Linked DNA regions of Homo sapiens: region 1 is linked to region 2. The links are contacts of gene promoters, found by promoter capture Hi-C in blood cells and fetal thymus (Javierre and others, 2016). All regions are on one chromosome and are shown on one strand. Each heading gives the region's core, a stretch centred on a gene start or on the middle of the fragment in contact. The rest is flanking DNA. Distances are from core to core; before and after follow the strand shown.

The links. Contacts are between HindIII fragments. The CHiCAGO score rates a contact against its expected background, and 5 or more counts as called.
Region 1: a contact is called between a fragment that was not itself captured here and the fragment with the promoter of IRAK1 in region 2, in 4 of 17 cell types (activated CD4 T cells, monocytes, M0 macrophages and 1 more). The highest score is 6.4, in activated CD4 T cells.

What each region holds. Positions count from the first base shown.
Region 1 is chrX:153,729,608-153,735,217 of GRCh38, reverse strand. All of the region lies in intron 2 of ABCD1 (ATP binding cassette subfamily D member 1), which reads right to left. It overlaps PLXNB3-AS1 (PLXNB3 antisense RNA 1), which reads left to right. Exons shown (of 3, transcript NR_199696.1): 3 at 1-366. Among named protein-coding and RNA genes, the nearest start is that of ABCD1, 7.6 kb to the right of the region's middle. RefSeq lists an enhancer at 1,214-1,906. The HindIII fragment of the contact is 1,143 bases long and covers 1,688-2,830 here.
Region 2 is chrX:154,018,652-154,025,207 of GRCh38, reverse strand. IRAK1 (interleukin 1 receptor associated kinase 1) reads left to right here and starts at 5,306. Exons shown (of 14, transcript NM_001569.4): 1 at 5,306-5,531; 2 at 5,610-5,777; 3 at 5,880-6,011; 4 at 6,130-6,233; 5 at 6,421-6,556. The coding sequence starts at 5,396. It overlaps MIR718 (microRNA 718), which reads left to right and starts at 5,219; the gene lies at 5,219-5,288. It overlaps MECP2 (methyl-CpG binding protein 2), which reads left to right. Exons shown (of 3, transcript NM_001110792.2): 3 at 1-3,635. RefSeq lists enhancers at 4,187-4,256, 4,372-5,341 and silencers at 5,027-5,406, 5,757-5,856, 5,867-5,936. The HindIII fragment of the contact is 4,941 bases long and covers 1,191-6,131 here.

The sequences.
Region 1 (5,610 bases), core at 1,010-3,509, 290 kb after region 2:
GTGTTATTCACAATAGCCAAAACATGAAGAAACCCAAAATGTCCATCAAGGGATGAATGGATAAAGAAATTGTGGTCTATGCACACAATGGAATATTATTCAGCCATGAAAAGGAATGAAGGACTGATTCATCTTATGACATGGACGAATCTTGAAACCATGATGCTCAGTGAAGGAAGCTAGTCACAAAATGCCACAGAGCACATGATTCCATTTCTAGGACATGTCCAGATAGGCAAATCCACAGAGACAGGAAGCAGATGAGTGGGTGCCAGGGGCTGGAGAGAGGGAATGAGGAGTGACTGTTCATGGGTCTGGGGTTTCTTTGGGGGATAAAATAAAAATAAAACATTCTGGAGTTAGTGATGATGGCTGCACAACTCTGTGAATGAATTTAAACTGTACATGGAAAAGGAAGAATTGTATAGTATGTTAATTACGTCTCAATAACGTTGATTTTTAAATGCACCAGTAGGCATCTGGTTTTGTTTCTACGTACAGCCAGCTCCTTCCACCGGCCCTCTGTCCTGCACCACTGATGTCGCCCCTCCTGGGGCACATCTGAACTTTGTCATCCAACGCCCAGAGCTGTTTGGCTTTGAAACGCCAACTTTCTTTTTTTTTTCTTTTCTTTTTTTTGAGATGGAGTCTTGCTCTGTTGCCCAGGCTGGAGTGCAGTGGTGTGATCTTGGCTCACTGCAACCTCTGCCTCCCCAGGTTCAAGGGATTCTTGTGCCTCAGCCTCCCGAGTAGCTGGGATTACAGGCACCCGCCACCAAGCCCAGCGAATTTTTTTTGTATTTTTAGTAGAGACGAAGTCTCACCATGTTGGCCAGGCTGGTCTCAAACTCCTGAACTCAGGTGATCCACTTGCCTTGGCCTCCAAAGATGCTGGGATTGCAGGCATGGGCCACCACGCCCGGCCTAATGTCCCACTTCCTGACCGCCCCCTCTAGGCCATGGTTTTTGACCTCTGGGCCAGCAGCCGTATTGTTTGGTGTCTGCTTCTCCCAGGAGCTGCTCCTGTCTTAATTTGCTTTTCTGTCACACTCTAGGCCCCGTGGCAGCACCCCTGACCCTCATCAATGGCCTTGACTCTCAGTTTCTTGATCCTTAGATTCCCCACAGGAGCAGAGGTGGGGAGCAAGGGCGAAGGCCGCCTCTGAGGGTGCTGGGGTGTGGCTGAAGTGGTGGGAATGTCCTGTGAAGGACCCGAGGACTGTATCCAGGGGTGGGTGTGATCCTGAGGGGGAAGCCTCAGGGATCATTGGCTGGGGGCTGGGGGAAGACACGGAACGCAGTATCCGCTCAGGGCCATGCAGGGTGGAAAGGGGCCTGGCCCGGGAAACCAGGGAACTAGATTGGGCTGGCGGGGCGGGGATGTGAATCCTAAAGGTCGAAGGCCTTGGACCTTCCTTCCCACGGTGCTCTCAAGGACACAGCCCTCCTCCCCAGGTGTTCTGAGAGCTGGACAGTCGCTGTGGACAAAGGGAAGGGTCTGCAAGTCTTTGTGCCCAGGGCATCCTGGCGTAGAACCAGCTGCCTTCTGCAGGTTCTCTTGGAGCCTTGGGTGAATAAGGCCAGGGCCCCAGAGCTGGACAGAGCAAGGCCTCAGGGCTGGAGTGGGAGCCACAGGCCCTGCCCATCTCCTGAGCCCACCTGCCTTGCACACCAGCCCAGCAAAGCTTATCTAAATCTTCCAACCGGTAAGAGCCTGCCTTCCCACCCAGTGCGCTCCACCTCCTTGAAGCACCTGGAGCCCTCACTAGCCACCCGATGCAGGGGACACAGCAGGGACAAAACAGACAAAAATCCCTGACCCCATGGAGCTTGCAGTCCATGGCAGGGAGAGAGAAAAGCGCCACTGACGGGGTGTCGAGTGCTTGGGAGAGCAGTGGGGCAGGGAAGGAGACAGGAAAGGTGGCGGTGGGCAGGCCGGGCCTTGCCTAGGGGGGCTGCGCCATGGGGCAGCAGAGGAAAGAGTGCTCCTGGCACAGGCCCCAAGACAGAGCAGGCCTGGCATTTGGGGAAATAAGAAGGCCACAGGACCAGGCACAGTGGCTCACACCTATAATCCCAGCACTTTGGGAGGCCGAGGCAGGTGGATCACTTGAGGTCAGGAGTTCAAGACCAGCCTGACCAACATGGCGAAACCCCATCTCTACTAAAAACACAAAAATTAGCCAGGCATGGTGGCGTGTACCTGTAGTCCCAGCTACTTGGGAGGCTGAGGCAGGAGAATCACTTGAACCCGGGAGATGGAGGTTGCAGTGAGCCAAGATCGTGCCACTGCACTCCAGCCTGGGAGACAGAGTGAGACTCCATCTCAAAAGCTCCCCCTCCAAAAAAAAACAGACGGCCACAGGACAGAGCCTATCAAGCCAGGGGAAAGGGAATGCTTCACAGCCTTCAAAGGCTGCTGGCTCTGAGGACCACCAGAGCAGGGCCAGGAGCCCACAAAGCCTGGCACAGCAGAGGCTCAGAAAAGTCCTAAGCCTTCAGGGCAGGGAGCAGCCCGATGTGACCAATGGCAGCCATGGAGCGAAGCGGCTGCAGGTGCTGTCTCGCGGGCTGTCTCGGTGCCCGGGGCTAGGTGCGCTGACTGGGCTGGGCACCTACGCCAGCATCAAGGCTGCCCTTGATGTGCAGTCCCCGAATTAGATCCTTCCTCTTGGTGAGTCACCCAGAGGATGACACAGACAGTTGAGGGCATGGAAGCCCCGAGGTGGAAACAGGAACAGGGAGAGAATCAGACTTCTGTTTATAAATCGAAAACCCTCTTCCCACCAAACTGGGTAAACTACGACACTATTTCGAGCAGAGCCAAGCTTGACGGAAAGCAAGGGAAACTTCTGGGAGCAAAGAGAAGCAGACAGCCAGGTGATCCTTTGATAGCCCCAGAGGCAGGCAGGGCAAAGACCAGGAAGCTTTCCTTGCTTAGCCTGGGCTCTATGCCCAATGAACAAAAAGCCTCCTCTGAAAATTTGTAACAATGTGCCTGGAGTTCAAATGAATTCAAATGAAACCACCTCTCAATTCAGGAACCATCCCCTCCGCACTAACTAATGGCCTCCAACTGCTTACCCTGGAGTGCTTGGCCAAAACAGAAGGACATTTGGACTTACACCCTCCATTGAGGCCACACCAATCCCCATAGAAGTTCTGTTGCAAAACCCACAAGGAAATGATCCACCATGAGTGAAGACCAGCAGACAGAAGACAGGCGAATGATACTCCCAAGAACTGAAGCTAACCAAACCATCAGATAGAGACGGTGGGGTAAGTATGACTAACCTGATACACAGTATAAAAGGAGCAGTCAAAAAGATGAGCAAATAAGACACAGAAACAGCCTGACATTTCTACTTGAAAAAGGAAATGTCCATTTTCAAATTCCTATTTGAAATAGAATGAAATAGAACTTACAAAACAGCCACTGAAATGTGAACAAAATTCCAATTAGACATGGCCAAAGAGAAAACTGGTGAACTGGAAAATGAGCAAACAGGAAGGCCTCAGGGCATCCCCAGAATTCAGCACAGACAGTGTGAGATGGGAAACAGTAAACAGAAACCGAAAGACACAACGAAGAGAGTCAGAAGTCCAGCACTGGCTGCCAGTTCTAGAAGAACAGGAAAAAAGAATGAGAGTCAGGCAATATCTGAAAAGCTAATAGCTGAGAATCTTCCAGAATGATTGAAAAACTCAAATATTCAAAGGACATATAACAAGTCTCAAGCAGAATCAACAAAAACTGACACCTAAACATGTCATAGTGAAACTGCAGAATGCCAAAAAGAAAGAAAGTGATCAAAGTACCCAGAAAAAAAGAAACACAGGGTACTCAGGGAGGACAATTTGTTAGCAGCTACAGATTTGTCAGCAGCTACAGAAGAAGCAGGGAGACAATGAGACATTGTGAAAGGGCTGAGAGAAAAGAACAGTCCACCTAGACTCCATTGCGCAACTCAACTTTAGCTTGGGAATAAGGGTGAAATAGAAACATTTTCAACAAAAATAATCAAGAATGACAACAGCCTGGGTGTGGTGGCTCACGTCTGTAATCCCAGCACTTTGAGAGGCTAATGCGGGAGGACCGCTTGAGCCCAGGAGTTCCACACTAGCCTGGGCAACACAGCGAGAACCTGCCTCTACAAAAAACAAACAAACAAACAAAAAACTAAACAACACAAAGAATTACAATAAAATAATCAAGAATTTCCCATGACAAAACCCTTGCTGAAAGAACCTTTTTTAAAAACCAACCACAACTAGAAGCACTGATGACTGTTTGTCCTGAGCATAGTTGTGAGTTAAAAAACAAACAAACAAAAAACTAAAAACATGTCTATCTGGAGGAAGATAACAGAACATAGAAGAGAAATTGAGATGTAGGAACGAAATGGTGAGCACAGAACTCAGCAAACATGCGAGTGAGTTTCAACACGTGTGGATAAGGCGATAGCAAAGAGGAAAAACTAGGTACAAATCCAACTCTTGGCTGGGCTATGATGCCATGCCCCACGGGGCTGCTTCTGCGTTCTAAGGTCCAGGAGAAGGCGGAGCTATTGATTAACCTAACAAGTATGCGTGTTGATCTTTTATTTTTTATTTTTATTTTTATTTGAGACGAAGTCTCGTTCTTTCGCCCAGGCTGGAGTGCAGTGGCGCTATCTGGGCTCACTGCCAGCTCCGCCTCCCGGGTTCACGCCATTCTTCTGCCTCAGCGTCCCGAGTAGCTGGGACTATAGGCGCCCGCCACCGCGCCCGGCTAAATTTTTGTATTTTTAGTAGAGATGGGGTTTCACCCTGTTAGCCAGGATGGTCTCGACCTCCTGACCTCGTGATCTGCCCGCCTCACCCTCCCAAAGTGCTGGGATGCCAGGCGGGAGCCCCCGCGCCCGGCTGCGTGTTGACCTTTTAAAGGGTGACCACTAATGGACTAAAAATCAAATGCAGAAGTTGCAATCCGGCAGAGGAACAAAACAGGAATGCAGGCCGGGCGCGGCAGCTCACACCTGTAATCCCAGCACTTTGGGAGGCTGAGGCGGGAGGATCACCTGACCAGGAGTTCGAGACCAGTCTGGGCAACATGGCGAAACCCTGTCTCTACCAAAAATATTAAAATTAGCCAGGTACGGCGGCTTGTGCCTGTAGTCCCAGCGACTGGGGAGACTGAAGTGGGAGGACCACTTGAGCCTGGGAAGTTGAGGCTGCAGTGAGCCAAGGTCGCGCCACTGCACTCCAGCCTGGGCGACAGTCAGACTCCTGTTTCAAAAGCCAAAAAGAAAATAAAACAAACAAACAAAAACAACAGGAATGCAGAAACCTAAACATTTAATCTTATCACTAAAATAACAGGTAGAACAGGCTTCCCACTCCTCTAAAACACCTTAGGGTGCAAGAGCTGTTTCAGGGCGAGGAAACCAAGGCTGGAGTGATGAAGGGGCTCACTCCAGGTACTCCGCACATTCTCCCACCTCTAAGTCGCAGTTGGGTTGAGGACAGGGACAGGTGGGTGAGGGTATCTGTGCCTGGAGAAGTGACATGTAGTGTTCCTGACTTGCAGTCCTGGGCTTGTCTGAGTGGTAACAAAGGGCGTGAGGTGCG
Region 2 (6,556 bases), core at 4,057-6,556:
ATCTCTTTGCCCCCAAACCCCCATTCTGTCCTACCTTTAATCAGGTCCTGCTCAGCAGTGAGAGCAGATGAGGTGAAAAGGCCAAGAGGTTTGGCTCCTGCCCACTGATAGCCCCTCTCCCCGCAGTGTTTGTGTGTCAAGTGGCAAAGCTGTTCTTCCTGGTGACCCTGATTATATCCAGTAACACATAGACTGTGCGCATAGGCCTGCTTTGTCTCCTCTATCCTGGGCTTTTGTTTTGCTTTTTAGTTTTGCTTTTAGTTTTTCTGTCCCTTTTATTTAACGCACCGACTAGACACACAAAGCAGTTGAATTTTTATATATATATCTGTATATTGCACAATTATAAACTCATTTTGCTTGTGGCTCCACACACACAAAAAAAGACCTGTTAAAATTATACCTGTTGCTTAATTACAATATTTCTGATAACCATAGCATAGGACAAGGGAAAATAAAAAAAGAAAAAAAAGAAAAAAAAACGACAAATCTGTCTGCTGGTCACTTCTTCTGTCCAAGCAGATTCGTGGTCTTTTCCTCGCTTCTTTCAAGGGCTTTCCTGTGCCAGGTGAAGGAGGCTCCAGGCAGCACCCAGGTTTTGCACTCTTGTTTCTCCCGTGCTTGTGAAAGAGGTCCCAAGGTTCTGGGTGCAGGAGCGCTCCCTTGACCTGCTGAAGTCCGGAACGTAGTCGGCACAGCCTGGTCGCCTTCCACCTCTGGGAGCTGGAGTCCACTGGGGTGGCCTGACTCCCCCAGTCCCCTTCCCGTGACCTGGTCAGGGTGAGCCCATGTGGAGTCAGCCTCGCAGGCCTCCCTGCCAGTAGGGTCCGAGTGTGTTTCATCCTTCCCACTCTGTCGAGCCTGGGGGCTGGAGCGGAGACGGGAGGCCTGGCCTGTCTCGGAACCTGTGAGCTGCACCAGGTAGAACGCCAGGGACCCCAGAATCATGTGCGTCAGTCCAAGGGGTCCCCTCCAGGAGTAGTGAAGACTCCAGAAATGTCCCTTTCTTCTCCCCCATCCTACGAGTAATTGCATTTGCTTTTGTAATTCTTAATGAGCAATATCTGCTAGAGAGTTTAGCTGTAACAGTTCTTTTTGATCATCTTTTTTTAATAATTAGAAACACCAAAAAAATCCAGAAACTTGTTCTTCCAAAGCAGAGAGCATTATAATCACCAGGGCCAAAAGCTTCCCTCCCTGCTGTCATTGCTTCTTCTGAGGCCTGAATCCAAAAGAAAAACAGCCATAGGCCCTTTCAGTGGCCGGGCTACCCGTGAGCCCTTCGGAGGACCAGGGCTGGGGCAGCCTCTGGGCCCACATCCGGGGCCAGCTCCGGCGTGTGTTCAGTGTTAGCAGTGGGTCATGATGCTCTTTCCCACCCAGCCTGGGATAGGGGCAGAGGAGGCGAGGAGGCCGTTGCCGCTGATGTTTGGCCGTGAACAGGTGGGTGTCTGCGTGCGTCCACGTGCGTGTTTTCTGACTGACATGAAATCGACGCCCGAGTTAGCCTCACCCGGTGACCTCTAGCCCTGCCCGGATGGAGCGGGGCCCACCCGGTTCAGTGTTTCTGGGGAGCTGGACAGTGGAGTGCAAAAGGCTTGCAGAACTTGAAGCCTGCTCCTTCCCTTGCTACCACGGCCTCCTTTCCGTTTGATTTGTCACTGCTTCAATCAATAACAGCCGCTCCAGAGTCAGTAGTCAATGAATATATGACCAAATATCACCAGGACTGTTACTCAATGTGTGCCGAGCCCTTGCCCATGCTGGGCTCCCGTGTATCTGGACACTGTAACGTGTGCTGTGTTTGCTCCCCTTCCCCTTCCTTCTTTGCCCTTTACTTGTCTTTCTGGGGTTTTTCTGTTTGGGTTTGGTTTGGTTTTTATTTCTCCTTTTGTGTTCCAAACATGAGGTTCTCTCTACTGGTCCTCTTAACTGTGGTGTTGAGGCTTATATTTGTGTAATTTTTGGTGGGTGAAAGGAATTTTGCTAAGTAAATCTCTTCTGTGTTTGAACTGAAGTCTGTATTGTAACTATGTTTAAAGTAATTGTTCCAGAGACAAATATTTCTAGACACTTTTTCTTTACAAACAAAAGCATTCGGAGGGAGGGGGATGGTGACTGAGATGAGAGGGGAGAGCTGAACAGATGACCCCTGCCCAGATCAGCCAGAAGCCACCCAAAGCAGTGGAGCCCAGGAGTCCCACTCCAAGCCAGCAAGCCGAATAGCTGATGTGTTGCCACTTTCCAAGTCACTGCAAAACCAGGTTTTGTTCCGCCCAGTGGATTCTTGTTTTGCTTCCCCTCCCCCCGAGATTATTACCACCATCCCGTGCTTTTAAGGAAAGGCAAGATTGATGTTTCCTTGAGGGGAGCCAGGAGGGGATGTGTGTGTGCAGAGCTGAAGAGCTGGGGAGAATGGGGCTGGGCCCACCCAAGCAGGAGGCTGGGACGCTCTGCTGTGGGCACAGGTCAGGCTAATGTTGGCAGATGCAGCTCTTCCTGGACAGGCCAGGTGGTGGGCATTCTCTCTCCAAGGTGTGCCCCGTGGGCATTACTGTTTAAGACACTTCCGTCACATCCCACCCCATCCTCCAGGGCTCAACACTGTGACATCTCTATTCCCCACCCTCCCCTTCCCAGGGCAATAAAATGACCATGGAGGGGGCTTGCACTCTCTTGGCTGTCACCCGATCGCCAGCAAAACTTAGATGTGAGAAAACCCCTTCCCATTCCATGGCGAAAACATCTCCTTAGAAAAGCCATTACCCTCATTAGGCATGGTTTTGGGCTCCCAAAACACCTGACAGCCCCTCCCTCCTCTGAGAGGCGGAGAGTGCTGACTGTAGTGACCATTGCATGCCGGGTGCAGCATCTGGAAGAGCTAGGCAGGGTGTCTGCCCCCTCCTGAGTTGAAGTCATGCTCCCCTGTGCCAGCCCAGAGGCCGAGAGCTATGGACAGCATTGCCAGTAACACAGGCCACCCTGTGCAGAAGGGAGCTGGCTCCAGCCTGGAAACCTGTCTGAGGTTGGGAGAGGTGCACTTGGGGCACAGGGAGAGGCCGGGACACACTTAGCTGGAGATGTCTCTAAAAGCCCTGTATCGTATTCACCTTCAGTTTTTGTGTTTTGGGACAATTACTTTAGAAAATAAGTAGGTCGTTTTAAAAACAAAAATTATTGATTGCTTTTTTGTAGTGTTCAGAAAAAAGGTTCTTTGTGTATAGCCAAATGACTGAAAGCACTGATATATTTAAAAACAAAAGGCAATTTATTAAGGAAATTTGTACCATTTCAGTAAACCTGTCTGAATGTACCTGTATACGTTTCAAAAACACCCCCCCCCCACTGAATCCCTGTAACCTATTTATTATATAAAGAGTTTGCCTTATAAATTTACATAAAAATGTCCGTTTGTGTCTTTTGTTGTAAAAATCAAGTGATTTTTTCATAAGGTTCTTTTACTATTGGAAAAGATGGGCAGCACGCAGTTTTATTTTATTTTTGTAAGTTTTTTAATACATGTGAAAGCAAAGAATACTCAGCATGCCTTTCTAAGTGACGCGTTTGCACCTTTTGTTGGGAAGTACTGTATCCTGTGCTGTTAGCATTCTCGATAAATCTCTCTGTGAAAGTGACTCAAGGTCTGGGCTTTCATTATAAGACAGAAGTCCCCCTCCAGCTCACATGACAGCATGGTGCTGCGTTTCCTCATTGGATCTGGCTGTCCCTGGACACAGGTAGCTGCCTTCAGGCCTGCCACGAGCGGCCAAGGGAAGCCTCCTCCATATGCTGGCCTCGCTGGCCCCTCAGCTTCTTCCAAGCCAGTGCTCTCCAGGCACACTGCTCCAGCGTGTGACGGGAAGGGCCTGGCATGAGTCAGCCTGCAGCACAACCTCCCTGCTCCAGACCCGTATGGTAGGGGCACCCCCTAGGTCTGGATGTGCTGTGGTGCTTTTGGACACCCCCACCCCCGCAGGCTGTGGCTCCTCCTGTGTCTCATTCTGGCCAGGACCCTCACGTGCCCTCTGTTGACTGCTAACGTGGTTCTCTGACCAGGCAAGGGCAGGCTGAGGGGTTTGCCCAAAGGGGGCCCCCTTGTTACTGGCTTCCTTGGCTCTCAGGAGCAGCCTCACCAGGTTGGTAAGGGGCTGGAGGAGACAACTGCTCAAAGGAGTCCAGCTTCACATGCACATGCTAGAAGGTACCCTCGGAAGGCCTGGCCTTCAAAGGTAGATCCCAGGGTTGAAAAGTCAACTTGTATGCATTGAGCATCTCGTATGCCAGCCCTGTTCCGTGAGCTGATGGGCCTTTGTGTGTAAGTAGGACCAAGTGCCCCCGTGGAGGTTAGCATGGGTGTGCAGTCATTTCAGATACTTGAGTTGGTACATCTCAGTAAAGTCTGTCCCGTGAGAAGCCATGGGTTTCATGGTATGGTTGGCATCTTCCTTGGGAGTGGCCACAGTGGTGGTGGCTTCAGGAAAGAGACTCCAACAGGGGCCAGCTGTGGGCCTTGGGCACTTCTCGTTTCTAGGAAAAGTCCTAAGTCTGTAGGGCTAGGGGTGGGGAACCCCTTCGCTGTCAGGATCAAGAGGGCAAGGGGAACTGTCGCTGGAGGAGACATCCAGCTGGAGAAACAAAAGAGTAAGTCTGCGTTGCTGCTTGTGGGGTCTTCCCCATCTCAGGGCGGGGACCGGGGGTGGCGGTCCAGACAAGTAATCAAGGACGATGCCCAGGAGGGGACAGGTACGGGGTGGCAGGAGCTCTGCCGGCGGGCTCAGGAAGCCTTCACCACAGCTGCCTGAGCTCACCCTTGCCAAATGAGGGCTGGGGCAGCAGCAACGCATACACTCACGGCTGTGGCGGGCAGCGTTCTCGGCATATTTCAGGACACCTAAGGAGACTGAATGGCTCAAGGCTGCTGCCGTGTGCAGGGGGCTAGACGTGGGGCGGGCAGGCAGGGCTCCTGGTAACAGCCCTGCAGGCCGCAGTGGAGAGCAGGGTTCCGGCAGGGCCGCCCAGGAGCTTTCGGAAGGCCCGGCCCCGGCCCCTTTCCGAGCAGCCCGGGCCTCCGCCCTGCCCTCTGTCCCCAACGCCGGGAGCCGCCGTTCGTCCTCCAGAGCCCCGCCCGGGCGAGCCCGGGAGGCCGATCGCCGCTCGCGGAACCCGCCGGGACCCGGGCCCTCCCCGGCGCGGGGCGCCCCCGTGTGACCCAGCGCGCGGCCGCGGCGCGCAAGATGGCGGCGGGCCCGGGCACCGCCCCTTCCGCCCCGCCGGGCGTCGCACGAGGCCGGCTCGAAGGGGAAGTGAGTCAGTGTCCGCGGACCCGGCCGGCCCAGGCCCGCGCCCGCCGCGGCCCTGAGAGGCCCCGGCAGGTCCCGGCCCGGCGGCGGCAGCCATGGCCGGGGGGCCGGGCCCGGGGGAGCCCGCAGCCCCCGGCGCCCAGCACTTCTTGTACGAGGTGCCGCCCTGGGTCATGTGCCGCTTCTACAAAGTGATGGACGCCCTGGAGCCCGCCGACTGGTGCCAGTTCGGTGGGTGGCGGCGGGCTGCCGGGGGGCGGGAGGCGCGCGGGCTCCTGGCGCCGACGCCTGACGCCCCCCGCCCCGCAGCCGCCCTGATCGTGCGCGACCAGACCGAGCTGCGGCTGTGCGAGCGCTCCGGGCAGCGCACGGCCAGCGTCCTGTGGCCCTGGATCAACCGCAACGCCCGTGTGGCCGACCTCGTGCACATCCTCACGCACCTGCAGCTGCTCCGTGCGCGGGACATCATCACAGCCTGTGAGCGCGGGACTCCGGGCACCCCACGGCTGGGAGGCCGGCGGGCCCCACGGGGCTCCCCCACCCGGGCCTCAACCTTCCTTTCCTTCCTTGGCGTCCCAGGGCACCCTCCCGCCCCGCTTCCGTCCCCAGGCACCACTGCCCCGAGGCCCAGCAGCATCCCTGCACCCGCCGAGGCCGAGGCCTGGAGCCCCCGGAAGTTGCCATCCTCAGCCTCCACCTTCCTCTCCCCAGGTAAGAGGGCCCGGTTGTTAGGCTCGGTGGACCCAAAGAAGAGCCCACCTTGACCACGGCCACGGCTGTAGACCCTGCTGCTGGTCTCTGCCTGCCTCTCACTGGTGTCTTTATGAAGCTTTTCCAGGCTCCCAGACCCATTCAGGGCCTGAGCTCGGCCTGGTCCCAAGCCCTGCTTCCCTGTGGCCTCCACCGCCATCTCCAGCCCCTTCTTCTACCAAGGTAGGTGTCCCCTGCCCCCCAGGGAAGATTCGAGACAAGGAGGAAGGAATTCAGCCTTTGATGTAGCGCAGAGCCCCAGTCAGCCAAGCTGGGTCAGCTGGGAGGCAGCTGTGGTGGGGAGAGCCTGGAGCCTTGGGCAGAAGGGAAGAGACAGGGACCCCACCTGATCCAGGCTCTCTTCCCACAGCCAGGCCCAGAGAGCTCAGTGTCCCTCCTGCAGGGAGCCCGCCCCTTTCCGTTTTGCTGGCCCCTCTGTGAGATTTCCCGGGGCACCCACAACTTCTCGGAGGAGCTCAAGATCGGGGAGGGTGGCTTTGGGTGCG